Regions from separate parts of the Homo sapiens genome. Here regions 1, 2, 3 and 5 are each linked to region 4. The links are contacts of gene promoters, found by promoter capture Hi-C in blood cells and fetal thymus (Javierre and others, 2016). All regions are on one chromosome and are shown on one strand. The core of a region is centred on a gene start or on the middle of the fragment in contact, and the rest is flanking DNA. Distances in the headings are between cores, read along the strand shown. Region 1 has its middle 19 kb from the start of YES1. Region 2 overlaps USP14 (ubiquitin specific peptidase 14). Region 3 overlaps THOC1 (THO complex subunit 1). Region 4 holds the start of COLEC12 (collectin subfamily member 12). Region 5 overlaps USP14 (ubiquitin specific peptidase 14).

Region 1 (2,722 bases), core at 197-2,696, 330 kb after region 4:
CTCAATCAATAAAATATACAGTATGTTTGCATCATGACATATTTAGATTTCAGTGGCACAAATATAATATTACGTTATGCCAAATAATACTTTATATTTTTCAAATTATTTTATTATCACATTTGATCCGTATAACAATCTTAAAAGATGAATAGGTAGATGTCACTACCCCCATTTTACAGGCGAGGAAACTGAGGAATGAGAAATGCAAACCAGTATGCCAGTCACCAAGTGTCAGATTAATTACTGAGCTAGAGGCCAAACGAGGTGGCTCAAGCCTGTACTTGCAGCACTTTGGGAGGCCGAGGCAGGCGGACTGCTTGAGCTCAAGAGTTTGAGACCAGCTTGGGCAAGAAAAAGAATTAGCAGGGTGTGGTGGTACATGACTGTAGTCCCAGCTGCTTGGGAGGCTGAGGTGAGAGGCTCGCGTGAGCCCGAGAGGTTGAAGCTGCAGTGAGCTGTGATTCTACCACTGCACTCCAGCCTGGGTGACAGAGCAAGACCCTGTCTCAAGGTGATGAAATGATTAGAATTATCCCAAATCTACTATCCCGAATGGTATAGTTATTTTGTATCATTGTATAATTTTCTCCTGCTACTCATTCCTTCAGGTTCTAAGGGAGAGTAAGTTCTAGTTGGTTTCCAAAAGCCCCAACTTAAATGGCTTCCTGGCAATTTTGATCTTAAAGATTGTCTTTTTTTAAGCTGGCCAGAGCAGCTGGCATAAAGAGAGAAAAAAAAGATTATGTCTTTTCTTCTTCTCTCTCTCTCTCTCTCCTCTAGTACCTAGAACACATGCAGAAGGTGCTTAGTATACTCGTGAGCAATGAATACATAAATAAAATGAGTTTAGAAGAGACCTGGGAAAGTCTGGGTAGTGGAATGGGAATACTCTTCTTTGTTAGAAGATAATAGATACCTCAGCACTGGGACATCAGCAGTGATAATCCTGCGTCACAGTTGGTGAGAAGCAGCGGGAAATCAGGGGGAAAGGAGGTAGAGGCAGGCACAGTGGCAGCCCAAGGAAATGAAGGCAAACTGTGGTCATGAGACCAAAGACAAGGGGAGCTGGGGAAGGGAATGATGTCATCAGAACAACAATAGAGGAAGATGGTTTTGGCAGCAGCTTTTGAATAGACTTTGAAGAAAAAAATCAGAGAGAGGGGAAAAAGGAAACGGGAAACGGAAGTCTGTTGAGAACTCAGCATGACATTTGGAGTGGGTGGAGAGCTTCCTGTATAGCTTGATGTTTGGAACATCTGGTCACCTCTTACAATAACAAAACCTTAGAAATTTCAAGCTTTCTCAAGTGGCCAGCTTAGAATGAGTGTGAATTCCATGGCCAAACCGTCATTGCCAGAAGACAGGAATATCTAAAGAAAGAAAAATTCAGACAGAAACTGACTCTTAACACTGAGAACACCCCCACTAGTTTTTTGATGTAAGTAGTCCTATTTGTCAATGTATCTATGCTTTATTTTTGGAATACAGTATTGGCTTGGTATTAAATTTAAAGTGTTAAGTCTACTTTAATTCAATTATCTCAAAGGGCTAAGGTTAATCAACAGATTTACAAAGAAAGCAATTGTTTTCAAAGCTTATGATTTTCACTACCCATTTTTCTGGTGTATTAATTTTTGCTAGAGTCCATACCTTGTTTCATTTGCAATATTGGCTGAAATTTTCCACAACTCAATTGTGCCCTCTAGTGTTTATTAGCATTTAGTGACGGCCACTTTGGATGTTTGTTTGTTTGTTTGTTTGAGACACAGTCTCGCTCTGTTGCCCAGGCTGGAGTGCAGTAGCATGATCTCGGCTCACTGCAACCCCCATCTCTCAGGTTCAAGCGATTCTCCTGCCTCAGCCTCCCAAGTAGGTGGGATTACAGGTGCCCGCCACCATGCCCAGCTAATTTTTGTATTTTTAGTAGAGATGGGGTTTCACTGTGTTGGTCAGGCTGGTCTCGAACTCCTGACCTCGTGATCTGCCTGCCTCAGCCTCTCAAAGTGCTGGGATTACAGGCATAAGCCACTGCGCCCAGCCCAATCCCAGGTCTTCAGACAAGGTAAACTCATTGTCAACCAGAAAATGTTTAAATTCACCTATAGCCTGGAAGCCCCAGCTTTGAGCTGTCCCACCTTTCTGGACCAATCCCATGTATTTATTAAATGTATTTGATTGATGTCTCATGCCCCTCTAAAATGTATAAAACCAAGCTGCACCCCGACCACCTTGGGCACATGTTCTCAGGACCTCCTGAGGGCTGTCTCATGGGCCATGGTCACTCATATTTGGCTCAGAATAAAACTCTTCACATATTTTAGAAAGTTTGACTCTTTCTGTCGACAATAGGGAGGTGCTGTAGGATGTTAGGCACATTATTACCAGCTTCGCCATGTTTTTGAAAGTTTTTATTATAATTCTATTGCTAATAGTGTGGTTAACCTCCATATAATAATACAGTAGTCCCTCCTTGTCTGTGAAGAATACATTCTGAGATCCCCAGTGGATGCCTGAAATCGCTACAGTACCAAACTCTATAGATACTGCGGTTTTTTGTAGATATAGACACACACATATCCCTATGATAAAAGTTAATTTATAAATGAGGCACAGAAGAGATCAACAACAATAACTAGTGATAAATCGAACAATTTTAACAATATGCCAGCATCCCTACCCTTGTGCTTTGATGCCATCATTAAGTCAAAGAAAGCTTACG
Region 2 (2,700 bases), core at 120-2,619, 330 kb before region 4:
ATTACAGGCGTGAGCCACCACACCCGGCCTCTATTATTTTTAATAATATAAGTATAGCTTTAAAAAATACTTCCTTCAAGGGTTAGATAAAATGCTAAAGATCTATAGTTAACTTTAGAGATAAAGACAGGCTACCCCCACTGGGCAGTAAAACACACGTTGGAGGAAAATCTTTGTTTACCCCCGAAGGTACAGTATGAACCTTTGGCCTTTAGTGAACTTCATAGCCTAATCTATGCTGAACACTGTACTAGTGGTATGCTGTCGAGAATTATAGAAGTATGCGAATTAAATGAAACTGTGACTGCTAATGGTTACCATTTATTGAGTACTTATTTTATGTCAGGCTTTTATTATATTTTCTTTAATTCTCAGCTGTATGTTATCCATATCTTATATATGAGGAAATTTTATAAATGAGTGTCAAAGAGGTTTAAGTAACATAGTAAGGCACCAAAAGAGCATATGATTTATACATCAAGCAGATCTGTGTTCACTTCCCAGTTTTGTGTGACCTTGGGTAAGTGATCTTAGGGGGCATTTATAGTTATCATTCATTATGTTTAGCAGTCATAGACCTTAAATTGAGAAGGGCCTTTAGGAAGTTACCGTTCCATTTTAAAGCAGATAAAAGAGATAATTAGTGGCACCAATGAAGGGTAGACAAGCATATTGGGTACCCGATACCTTCTATAAAAGGGAGTAATATAGAATCGACTTTATCCTATGAGGGGAAAGGCCTAGCTGTAGTTAGTAAAAATATTACTCTGGACTAATCATGCATTTAAAAAAAAAATTCTTGATTTTTATTCAACATATTGAAAGGAAAGTATATACTTGCTTTATAGATGCGTTATAGACATTAACTCTTCATTCTTGCCACGTAAGCTTGTTATTTATTAGCTCTGCTGGTTCCAAACATCCAAAAAATAGGATCTATCATTTGTCATTAGTCAAGTGTTTTTTAGTACTTGCTAAAAGTATTTTTTTATACTTATGTGTTTTTTAGTATTTGATGCTGTAAATACAGGTTACTGCCTTTTGTATTGTGTTACCTTATGCAGTTGAAGCAAATTATTTGAAACCCTGGCTTTAGTACCACTTGTGTTTAAAAAAAATTTTTGTTTTTTTTTGAGATGGAGCCTTGTTCTGTTGCCCAGGCTGGAGTGCAGTGGTGAGATCTCGGCTCACTGTAACCTCTGCCTCCTGGGTTCAAGCAATTATCTTGTCTCAGCCTCCCGAGTAGCTGGAATTACAGGTGTGCACCACCATGCTCAGCTACTTTTTGTATTTTTAGTAGAGATGGAGTTTCTTTATATTGGTCCGGCTGGTTTCGAACTCCTGACCGCAGGTGATTTGCCTGCCTCAGCCTCCCAAAGTGCTGGGATTACAGGCGTGAGCCACTGTGCCTGGCCAAAAAAAATTTTTTTAATTGCCATAATTTTAAATAAAATCTGCATATAGGATAAATTTTATTCTGTTTTGAAGTACATTAAAATAAATTGATTATTAGATTGTGTTCAGCTTGTACAGTGGTGGTTAAATGTCTTTTGTTTGTCTTTGAAACAGGATGATGATTGGGGAAACATCAAAATAAAAAATGTAAGTATTATCTTATGAACGTTTATTATAATGCAGTAACCTCATTATGATACCAAAATACATTCCAGATGACTTTTTTTCATGTGTATATCCAGTTGTTCCAGCACTATCTGTTGAAAATACTTACCTTTTCCCATTGACTTGTGTTGGGCTCTTTCTTGAAAAGTAGTTATAGGTTTGTTTTTGGGTTTTTGTTTCATTGATCTAGTAGATTAAAGTTACACTAGTACCAAATGGTTTTGATTACTAAAGCTTTATAATAAAAGCCTTGAAAAAAAAATTAGCTGGGTGTGGTGGTGCACGCCTGTAATCCTAGCTACTCGGGAGGCTGAGGTGGGAGGCTGAGGCGGGAGGCAGAGGCAGGAGGCAGGAGAATCACTTGAACCTGGGAGGCGGAGATTGCAGTGAGCCGAGATCGTGCCACTGCACTCCAGCCTGGCAACAGAGCGAGACTCCGTCTCCAAAAAAAGAGTCTTGAAATAAGATAGTATATGTTCTTATGCTCTCCAACTTTCTCCTCTTTGAGATTTTGTTTGAGATTACATTGAATCTGTAGCTCAATTTGGGGAGAATAAACATCTTAACAATATTGAGTATTAAAATCCCTGAATATGATGTACTTCCTTATTTATTTAGGTCTCTGTTTTTCTCTTAGCAGAGTTGTAGTTTTTAAACATAGAGGTTTTGCATGAGTGGTTTTTTTTTTGAGACAGGGTCTCACTCTCACGTATGCCGGAGCACAGTGGCATGGTCATGGCTCGCTGCAGCTTTAAACTCCCAGCCTCAAGCAGTCCTTCCATCTCAGCCTTCCAAGTAGCTGGGACCACAGGCGGGTGTTACCATGCCCAGTTAATTAATTAATTTTAATTATTTTTTGTAGAGATGGGGGTGTCACTATGTTGCCCAGGCTGGTCTTGAACTCCAGGGCTCAAGCGATCCTCCTGCCTTGGCCTCCCAAAGTGCTGGGATTAACAGGTGTGAGTCACTGTGCCCAGCCCTTGCATGACTTCTCTTAAATTATTGGAACTTAACATTTGTTCGCTGCTTAAAATAATATTAAAAAATATTTCCAGTGTTCATGGCTAGAATGTAAAAATA
Region 3 (2,860 bases), core at 93-2,592, 270 kb before region 4:
ATCCAATAAATATTGATGGCTAGGATCTGAACACTTTACATACATTATTCATTGAATTCTCGGAACAAGTACATGTACATATTAAACAGAGACTACCGTGTCTCACTGATTTGCCCAAGGCCATAAAGATTTAATTCAAACCCACGTCTCACTTCAAAGTCCCTCATCTTCCTACTATGCTATACCAAACCTCCAAAATAGATAGAAGGATAAGAAATAACATTTTTTGAGTGTTTACCATGTGCTACTACCTTAAAATTACAAGTCTGAAAGAGCTGCACTGCAGCCAGCAAATGACGAGCCTGGGATTCAAACCCAGCAGGTAGTGAAGTCATTATACAACTAATACGGCATTGCTCAGTGTCCTTAACACAAATACCGTTAAGTAACAGTGGGCTCCACCTTCAGTTATGGACAGGATAGGAGGAAATGGATGGAAGTATTTAGATAGACAGTAGAGAGCCTAATGAGGTTTTGTGAAACCCCAAATAAATGAACTCCTTTTTGCTTAAAAATTTTCTTTGCATCTTTTAGCTTGAATGTCCTGCAGAGCTCCACACCTTGTGAGATATGTATTACTGGCTTAGTCTGCAAATCAGCTTTGGAGGAGGTCTGAGGGAGGTGAGAAGGGAATGACGGAATTTTGGAGCAGAGACCTCCACCTGCTAATAAAGACGACAACTCCTGGCAAGCCCTGGAGTTGGGCAGGAAAAACTCACACTGACAGATATATTTAACATCTTTTCCTTAAATATCCTAATATCGAAAAGCCTTCAATGTATCAGCTGCAATACATGTGTTTTAGGGATACAGCCTTAACATGAAATGGACACATACATAAGAAAAATCGTAAGCAAGTCCTTTTTTTTCTTGGCTACTGTTTACAAATTGTTTACTACCCATATTATCTTACCTTTTGAATTTGACCTGCCCCTTGAGATATTGGAATAAAATGAGATACTGCAACAGGATGTGTCGACGAAAGTTACTGTCACTCAGTTGTAAATCCATCAGCTACTCAAGAAACAAGCAAACACATACGAAAACAACACATTAAAATCAAGTTTTTCCTAAAGGTACAAAATGTGCTAATATAGAAATGGAAGATTCCAATTCAATTTAAAAGCCATTTGTTGAGAGTTCACTGCATGTGAGGCATTACCGCACAAGCCCAAAGACAGCCCAGTCAAGGTTTCACTTAGATTTCTTGACTGTTTTATGCCATGACACATTCTTGCTGGTGGATAACAATGATCTATCTATGGTCCAGACATGAGGATAAAATAAAGCAGAAATAGAAAAAAGTAAGCTGGGCATGGTGGCACAAAGCCTATTATAGTCCCAGCTACTCAGGAAGCTGAGAAGGAGGATCACTTGAGCTCAGGAGTTCGAGATCAGTCTGAGCAACATAGCAAGACTCTAAATTTAAAAAAAAAATTTTTTTTTAAAGTAAAACTGAGGCTACTACTTTCTCACATATGAAGAAATAATGGCTAAAGAAGATACGGATAACAGCACAATATCAACGGGGACCACTCATTTTTGTAGCCCTATAAAGTGCCTGCAACAGAGGTATTACTTGACAATAAACAAGAAATTAGAGGTGAAGATCATCTCTGATTAGATGGGCTTTTTTTTTTAGCTTTTAGTGAAAATTGCATCATACTTGTATTATCACAGAATCTGGATTAGAAAGGACTTGAAGGTCACTCATGAGGAAGTTCTTCAACGACCCTGCCATCCAGCTGTAAGAATAACCTGCGGCGATGAAGGAAGGTCATTCTGATTATGTGCATGGAACACTGAAGGAAGGCTGAAGTCTGTATCCACAAACTCATGCTAGTTCTGCCTTCAAAAACTACAGTAACAAAGGAAAGCCACGTTCTTCTAAATGAATCGCCAGTAAGGCAGCTGGAAGCGTCGAAGATTGGTTTTGGTTCAATGTCCCAAGTGCTGGTGGCTCTGCTTTACGTGGTTGGTACCATTTACTAATGCTACCTAACACGCACAAGCCTCCCTATTCACTAGCAACCCCTTCCACACTGTGGCTCCAGGTCTTAAAAAAAAAAATTAATGATCAGCCTTCCAGTCAGGTTTCCCTCACGTTTAAGGATTGAATATATTTGATTGTTATTTATATTAACTCTCCTATCCCAAATTGGAAATGTGAATGGCCGGCCATCAGCCTTCCCTTCCTCCAGCCCCTGGGCAACTTGACTGTCTCCACTCAGGCTGTTAGTTCCTTGCCCTTAACTCCACGGACAGGCCCATCTCTGCTCCAGCTACCCACTACTGTGGCCACAGCTAGACCTGGGGTCACTCACAGCTGCCCCAGATCTGAAGTCTTCAACTCACAATCCTATCTCACCACAACCTCTATCCTTCCCAGGTCTCTCGCTCAGTTGCTTCCAATATACCTAATATTTGGATCTTACCGAGACTTTAAGGCCCTTGACCCGTCTATTCTCTGCCTGTTAGTCCCATCCCATTTTATTATAATCCTATTTTAGTCTAGATAAGGGGTCAGCAAACTTTTTCCTGAAGTGTCAAATAGTAAGTATTTTTATTAATAGGTTATGTGGGCTAAGAGACATATTATGGATATTATGTAGGTATTTAAACATCTAAAATGTAAGGGGGAAAAAAAAACCAAAATCACCAAAAACAACCAACACAGGTGGTGGGCCAGATTTGGCCTATAGGCTATAGTCTGCCAACTCCTGGTCTAGACTTCATGGTTAATCTCTTCGGCCATTTTCTTGCCAACTTCAACACACTTGTCCCATATTTCTTCTGTCATGTCTAGTGAGCAAACAGCAACCTTGAATAAACCAACTGTTAGTCACCTTCTCTATACCAA
Region 4 (2,773 bases), core at 72-2,571:
CTCCGGTTAGTTCCGCGGGAGCTGCCCTTCAGAAAAAAAACTTTCCAGAGCCAAAAGTTACTTTCCAAGCGCCTTGGGGCTTCCCGGGCGCCTCCCTCGGACGGCAACCCTAGAAGTCAAAGCGATTGCATCGCCAGGTCTGTGGCGGCTGGAAGCGGGGTGACCGCGGTCAGATGGCATTTCGCACCCACGCAGGGCTGTGTTATCCTAGCACAGAACCAGCAACTCTCACACGAAGCCTTGTGTAAACACCACGCGGGCCCATTCCTGAACGACTCTTTGATGCCTCCGCTGCGGTTACTTATCTCATACATAAATCAGGATTCCGCTGACAAATCTCCGTGTTTCCACTAAACAGAAGGCTGCCCTGCAGTCCTTCTCGTGCTTCTTTCTAAAGTACGATAACATCTGACACTTCCATAAACCGGCCTGCAGAGGACACCGCGCAGGGGGCGACTAACCAGCTGAGGTGTGTCACCCCAAAACACCAGTGGGCACACCCCAAGGCGGGCACGTGGAAGGGACGCGGAACCGAGGGCAACTATTTTCCAGTCGGTGAATCTGATGGAGAAAGATGCCAAATGCACTTCCCGAGCCAGCTGAACTCCTCGGGCACCTAATCATTGCCAGATGTGGCGAGGGCGCACGGAGAACATCCCCAGTCCCGGAGAAAACACCCGGCCGCCAGCGCGGGGACCGCTCGGGCCGGGAAACGGCTAGAGGCGGGAGGAGAGAGGACTGGGCGAGCGTGGGGAGCGCTGCGGCGTGGAAAAGCGACCGGGAGGGATGGCGATGCCTCCACTCTCCTCGGCAGGTTTTTTCAATTAAAAAGTTGGAAACGGGAATCCGTAAACAACGACTTAGGGCTTCAAACTACTTGCAAAGACGCGATGGGGAGGGGAATACTTGCGCGCTTCAAAACCCCAACCTCGAGGTCTCCAGCCGCGCCTGACCCGGGAGCCGGGTGCGCCCCCAGTGTCCGCGCACGAACCCGGCGCCCTGGCAGCCCCGACTCCCCGGGCCCGCAGCCCAAGGGAAGGTTCGCGCGGGAGGCACCTCCGTGGCCTCCCGCGCGCCCCGAAGCCCGTTCCCCCCGCCCAGAGCCCCGCGGAGCTGCCGCCGCCCTACCTTTCATGGTGACCGTGGGGACGCACCGCCGGCCGGGGAGCTCCGCGCGAGCGCCGCGCAGCCGAGGAAGTCGTCCCGAGCGGCTGCTCACCGCACGCCCATGGTAGCCGCGCCGCGCGCCGGCCGTCTGCGCCCCCGTCCTCCCTCGCCGCCGCCGGCCCGCGCTCCCCGCGCTCCCGGCTCCGCGCTCTGCTGCCTCGGGGCTGCCGCGCGCGCCGCTCTCGCTCTCCCAGCGCCCCTCCCCCTGGCCCGACCCGGCCGAGCGAGCGGCCGCGCCCACGCCCCTCTCGCGCCCTCCCGCGCCCGCCCCGCCCTCGGCCCGCGCCTGCCCTCGCCGGGCACTTTCTCGCCCGCCCTCTCCTGCGCGCCCTGGCCCCACTCGCGCGGGCTCTCTCTTTTTCCCGTTGCACCAGCGTCGGGATGAAGTCGGGAGCAAAGCCCTTCCCGGGGCGGTCCAGCGTTCACCTTCGGCGAGCACCTAAGGTGCCGCTGCTGCTGGGGTCGCTTCTACACCCCAAACTACCTAGCAAGTGTTGGGCGAGAGGATGGGGAGCTGCTGTGCCCCGGGGGTGGCGGGGGGTAAGGTGGGCCCTTCCCCAAACGGCTCTGGGGCATGGAGAGGTACAGAACGTCCTCCGGGTTCAGAGTTTCCAAGTGCGTGCGCTGGTTGACGCCTGAAGGAGACCAAGCAGCAGGGAACACTCTCTCTGTCACCCAGGGAGAGCCCGAGTGGCCAGAATCCGAAGTCACCATTAGACACTCTCTCTGCGCTCTTGGACACCTCCAGAGAAAAAGCCAGCACATCCTGCCTTGGCTGGAAAAGCCAGCCTTCCACCCAGCGCCCCTAAAATGATCGGGTTGACTCCAGTTTTGTTACGAAAGGAGGCCGGGCTGCTGAGAGGCTCCCTGAGTTCCCTTCGTGGTCGCCCGTCACATTGCCCTGCTGTATACTTAATAAAGCCCGTGTTTATCTTTCTCTTTAGAACCCCCTCTAAGCAGACCCATCGCTTTATTGCTTTAAAACATACACTAAGTGGTGAGTGGAGCTGGGGCGAGGGAGGTGCGGAGAAACTTTCTGCCACATGTTGACATTACAGATGGCTACTCAGACGCACTAGTCCACCAAAAGCAATCGAACACTGGCCGGGCAGTGCTTGCAGCTTTTCAGTTTGCCCTCCTGAGGACTTGGTAACACGGTGTAACCAATCCATTGGTTCCCTCTAAGTAGGGGATTCTTTGCTCTAGTAAAAGGTAGTGCCCCAAAATGAATACATATTGAAACATTTCATAGATTCTCCGTTCCAGGAGATTTCTTTTTTCTTTCTTTTTTTTTTTTTTTAATTTTTTAACATAAGGGGGCACCTTGAACATGACGAACAAATGAAAAGACCGAAATGCTTTTTCCCCCGCACTGTCTGCAGTTGATGAAACTACAGGGTCCTGGTCCTGGAGCATGTTTCAGATCTCACTGGGGCACCAGCCTTGTCTTTCAGGGCAAATGGGGATCCCTGAAGGGAGCTTAGGATATGAATTTTCAGCCCGGAGTTTACTAACCAATGGCGTGACCTCGGCTCACTGCAACCTCCACCTCCCGGGTTCAAGCGATTCTCCTGCCTCGGCCTCCCGAGTAGCTGGGATTACATGC
Region 5 (2,890 bases), core at 226-2,725, 300 kb before region 4:
TTCCCTTCCCCTGATCACTTACTGTTTCCATCCTGCTTTTTTTCGCTTCATAACCCTTATCTCTACTTGAATTTTATATATTCACTGCTATTATGCTGAGTATCTAGTACAGTGTTTAGCACAAATTGGAGCTCAGCAGATGTCTGTTGAATGAATAAGCTATTCTAGAATGCTTTATTTTTTGGAAGATCGTATGTCTTATTTGGCTTAATATTTTTAAAGAAGGAAACCACTTTCTTGCCTAGGAGACAGTGATTATTTTGGAAGAACTTTGTAGATCATTCACTGCCAGGATTACTTACTTTGTCTTTTTTTACATTACAGGATGCTAATGAATGTTGGATACAAATGATGCGAGTATTGCAACAGAAATTGGAAGCAATAGAGGATGATTCTGTTAAAGAGGTAATTGAAATATATTTGTGATTATAGACTTTCGTTATACCTTGATTTTTTTTTTTATTTTTTTTCCCCTCAAAGGCTTAAAATAAGTTCCATCTTATAGGTAGATGTGTATTTAAATACTTTAGATGCTCAATCTGTAGTCAGAATTTGGAAGCTTGCATACGACATTTAAATTTAATGTATTATTTATTAAACTTAATTCATTGTTGATTTTTGGTAATGTTTTTTGAAGGATTTTACTGTAAGGGACTACATTTTTAAAAAAATATGTATTACTAAACTGGATTGTGTGGAAGAAAATCTACATTAATATTTATATAAAGTTGGAATTTTTATTTTAATTTTTGCAGACAGACTCCTCATCTGCATCGGCAGCGACACCTTCTAAAAAGAAAAGTTTAATCGATCAGTTCTTCGGTGTTGAGTTTGAAACTACGTATCCTTATGAGCCAAGATATAGACTATACTCATACCTTATTAGAATTGGCATAAATAGCATCATTGGCTGATTGATTGGTGGTGGGTAGAAGAAAAATTCTTCAGAGGTTTTTTTTCTTTGAGACGGAGTTTCGCTCTTGTCGCCCAGGCTGGATTGCAATGGTGTGATCTTGACTCACTGCAACCTCCACCTCCTGGGTTCAAACAGTTCTGCCTCAGCCTCCCAAGTAGCTGGGATTACAGGTGCATGCCACCATACCCAGCTAATTTTTTGTATTTTTAGTAGAGATGGGGTTTCACCCTCTTGGTCAGGCTGGTATTGAACTCCTGACTTTAGTTGATCTACCCACCTTGGCCTCCAGGTGTGAGCCACCGCGCCCAGCCCAGAGGTTTTTATACCTAAAAAAATACAATAATGGAAATTAGGAATTTGGAAAAATATACCTATTGGAGTGATCTTGAAGGATAATGGGATTATTCATTATGTTTTGATTAATATAATTATTTTAAATTTATTTCTTGAAGGATATTTATTATTTTTTCCTAAGAACATCTTTAGCAGAGTCTACCTCATTTTCATTCACCTTATAAAGAATTAATTTCTTATATGTCAAGGTGACTGTTAATAATAACTTTTAAAATAAAAAAAGAATTTTTTAATTTTATAAAAGGGTGTGTATCAACTATACATGAGATTGAACCAGTTAATAAAACATGAATCAGGAAAGTACTGTCTTCTAGGTCATGGTTAGAAAAACTTAGAAACAATTTATGTACCTTTGGGCTTCTAAGACCATTATAAGACCATACTAAATACCAGCTTATAGTTTAGAGTTTATTGCAGTTTATCTTTTAATACACATTTATTACTCATTGTTGTTTCTAGAATTGTTGGTAGCCAAATGAACATTCTTAAGTATGTTGAAATGAATCTTGGGAGACTAAAAGGTTTTAAATGCCAATGAATGATACTATTAATTTTAATGGAATTAGGATAATGTATTATATTCAAGAGTATATAACAAATTGAATACCCGTTGGCATATTCCTTATCTTAGTTTACAAAGCATGAAATGTACAGAATCTGAAGAAGAAGAAGTCACCAAAGGAAAGGAAAATCAACTTCAGCTTAGCTGTTTTATCAATCAGGAAGTCAAGTATCTTTTTACAGGACTTAAATTGGTAAGGACAATCTCAGTCCATCCTTGTTGTTTGTGAATTCCATGTTTGCGAGTAAGCCAAAGTCATTATTCACTGGGCTTTAATGGTCATTTGTAGACATGTGCAGAGCAATACGCATTTTGAGTTGCCCGATACACACAGTCCCATCTGAGGTCAAACAAGTACTTGGCCTTCTTGTTTCAGCTTGGTAAACAAATACCATTTTAGCAGGAATGTTAGAACTGTTGTTTTAAAAAAAAATTTCTGCTTTTTGTTGGTTATTTCACTGTTTAAGATGACCCCCCAAGCACAGGGCTGAGTGCTGTCTAGTGTTTCTAGGTGTGGGAAGGCTGTGATGTGCCTTACTGAGAAAATATACTTGTTAGAGAAGCTTCAGTTGGGCCTGCGTTGCACTGTTGGCTCTGAGTTCAATGTTAATTAATCAACACAATATGTGAAATAAGGTGTCCTTAAACAGAAACACACATAAAACAAGGTTATGTATTGATTGGTTGATGAAAATGTTGTGATCAAAGGCTGGCGGGAATCTAATCCTGTATTTCCCCTAGGAGCAGTGGTTCAGTATTCATTGATTCAGTGCTTGTGGTGACTTTGTAGAACATAATTACCGTGACTAACAAAATCAACTGTATAGTCAGAAATCAAACAAACTTCAACTAGCTCTTCATTTCATAGACAAAAGCATTATTGACATGGTTGCATATGCTAACAAATATTGGGACATCTCACTTTTTAATCACTGGGTGTTCCTGCTTCACACTGTGAAGAAGCACCTAGTGCTTTGTGCTGTACCTTGCTTTATTTTAAAGCACTCAAGAAATGTTTGTTGAATAGTTTACATGTTTGTTAAGATTTTTCCTTAGAG

Evidence for each region. Contacts are between HindIII fragments. The CHiCAGO score rates a contact against its expected background, and 5 or more counts as called.
Region 1: a contact is called between a fragment that was not itself captured here and the fragment with the promoter of COLEC12 in region 4, in 2 of 17 cell types (M1 macrophages and monocytes). The highest score is 6.6, in M1 macrophages.
Region 2: a contact is called between a fragment that was not itself captured here and the fragment with the promoter of COLEC12 in region 4, in 2 of 17 cell types (monocytes and M1 macrophages). The highest score is 5.7, in monocytes.
Region 3: a fragment that was not itself captured here is called in contact with the fragment with the promoter of COLEC12 in region 4 in 3 of 17 cell types (neutrophils, M1 macrophages and M2 macrophages); the score reaches 8.0 in neutrophils.
Region 5: a contact is called between a fragment that was not itself captured here and the fragment with the promoter of COLEC12 in region 4, in 4 of 17 cell types (M1 macrophages, M0 macrophages, neutrophils and 1 more). The highest score is 5.8, in M1 macrophages.

Annotation. Positions count from the first base shown.
Region 1 is chr18:829,417-832,138 of GRCh38, forward strand. No RefSeq gene overlaps it. Among named protein-coding and RNA genes, the nearest start is that of YES1, 19 kb to the left of the region's middle. RefSeq lists an enhancer at 908-1,474. The HindIII fragment of the contact is 297 bases long and covers 1,299-1,595 here.
Region 2 is chr18:165,218-167,917 of GRCh38, forward strand. It overlaps USP14 (ubiquitin specific peptidase 14), which reads left to right. Exons shown (of 16, transcript NM_005151.4): 3 at 1,570-1,602. Among named protein-coding and RNA genes, the nearest start is that of USP14, 8.0 kb to the left of the region's middle. The HindIII fragment of the contact is 966 bases long and covers 887-1,852 here.
Region 3 is chr18:225,888-228,747 of GRCh38, forward strand. THOC1 (THO complex subunit 1) reads right to left here. Exons shown (of 21, transcript NM_005131.3): 12 at 914-1,014. Among named protein-coding and RNA genes, the nearest start is that of THOC1, 41 kb to the right of the region's middle. The HindIII fragment of the contact is 4,135 bases long and covers 1-2,860 here.
Region 4 is chr18:499,380-502,152 of GRCh38, forward strand. COLEC12 (collectin subfamily member 12) reads right to left here and starts at 1,322. Exons shown (of 10, transcript NM_130386.3): 1 at 1,129-1,322. The coding sequence starts at 1,135. The HindIII fragment of the contact is 13,067 bases long and covers 1-2,773 here.
Region 5 is chr18:197,292-200,181 of GRCh38, forward strand. It overlaps USP14 (ubiquitin specific peptidase 14), which reads left to right. Exons shown (of 16, transcript NM_005151.4): 8 at 325-405; 9 at 756-841; 10 at 1,911-2,025. Among named protein-coding and RNA genes, the nearest start is that of USP14, 40 kb to the left of the region's middle. The HindIII fragment of the contact is 1,836 bases long and covers 558-2,393 here.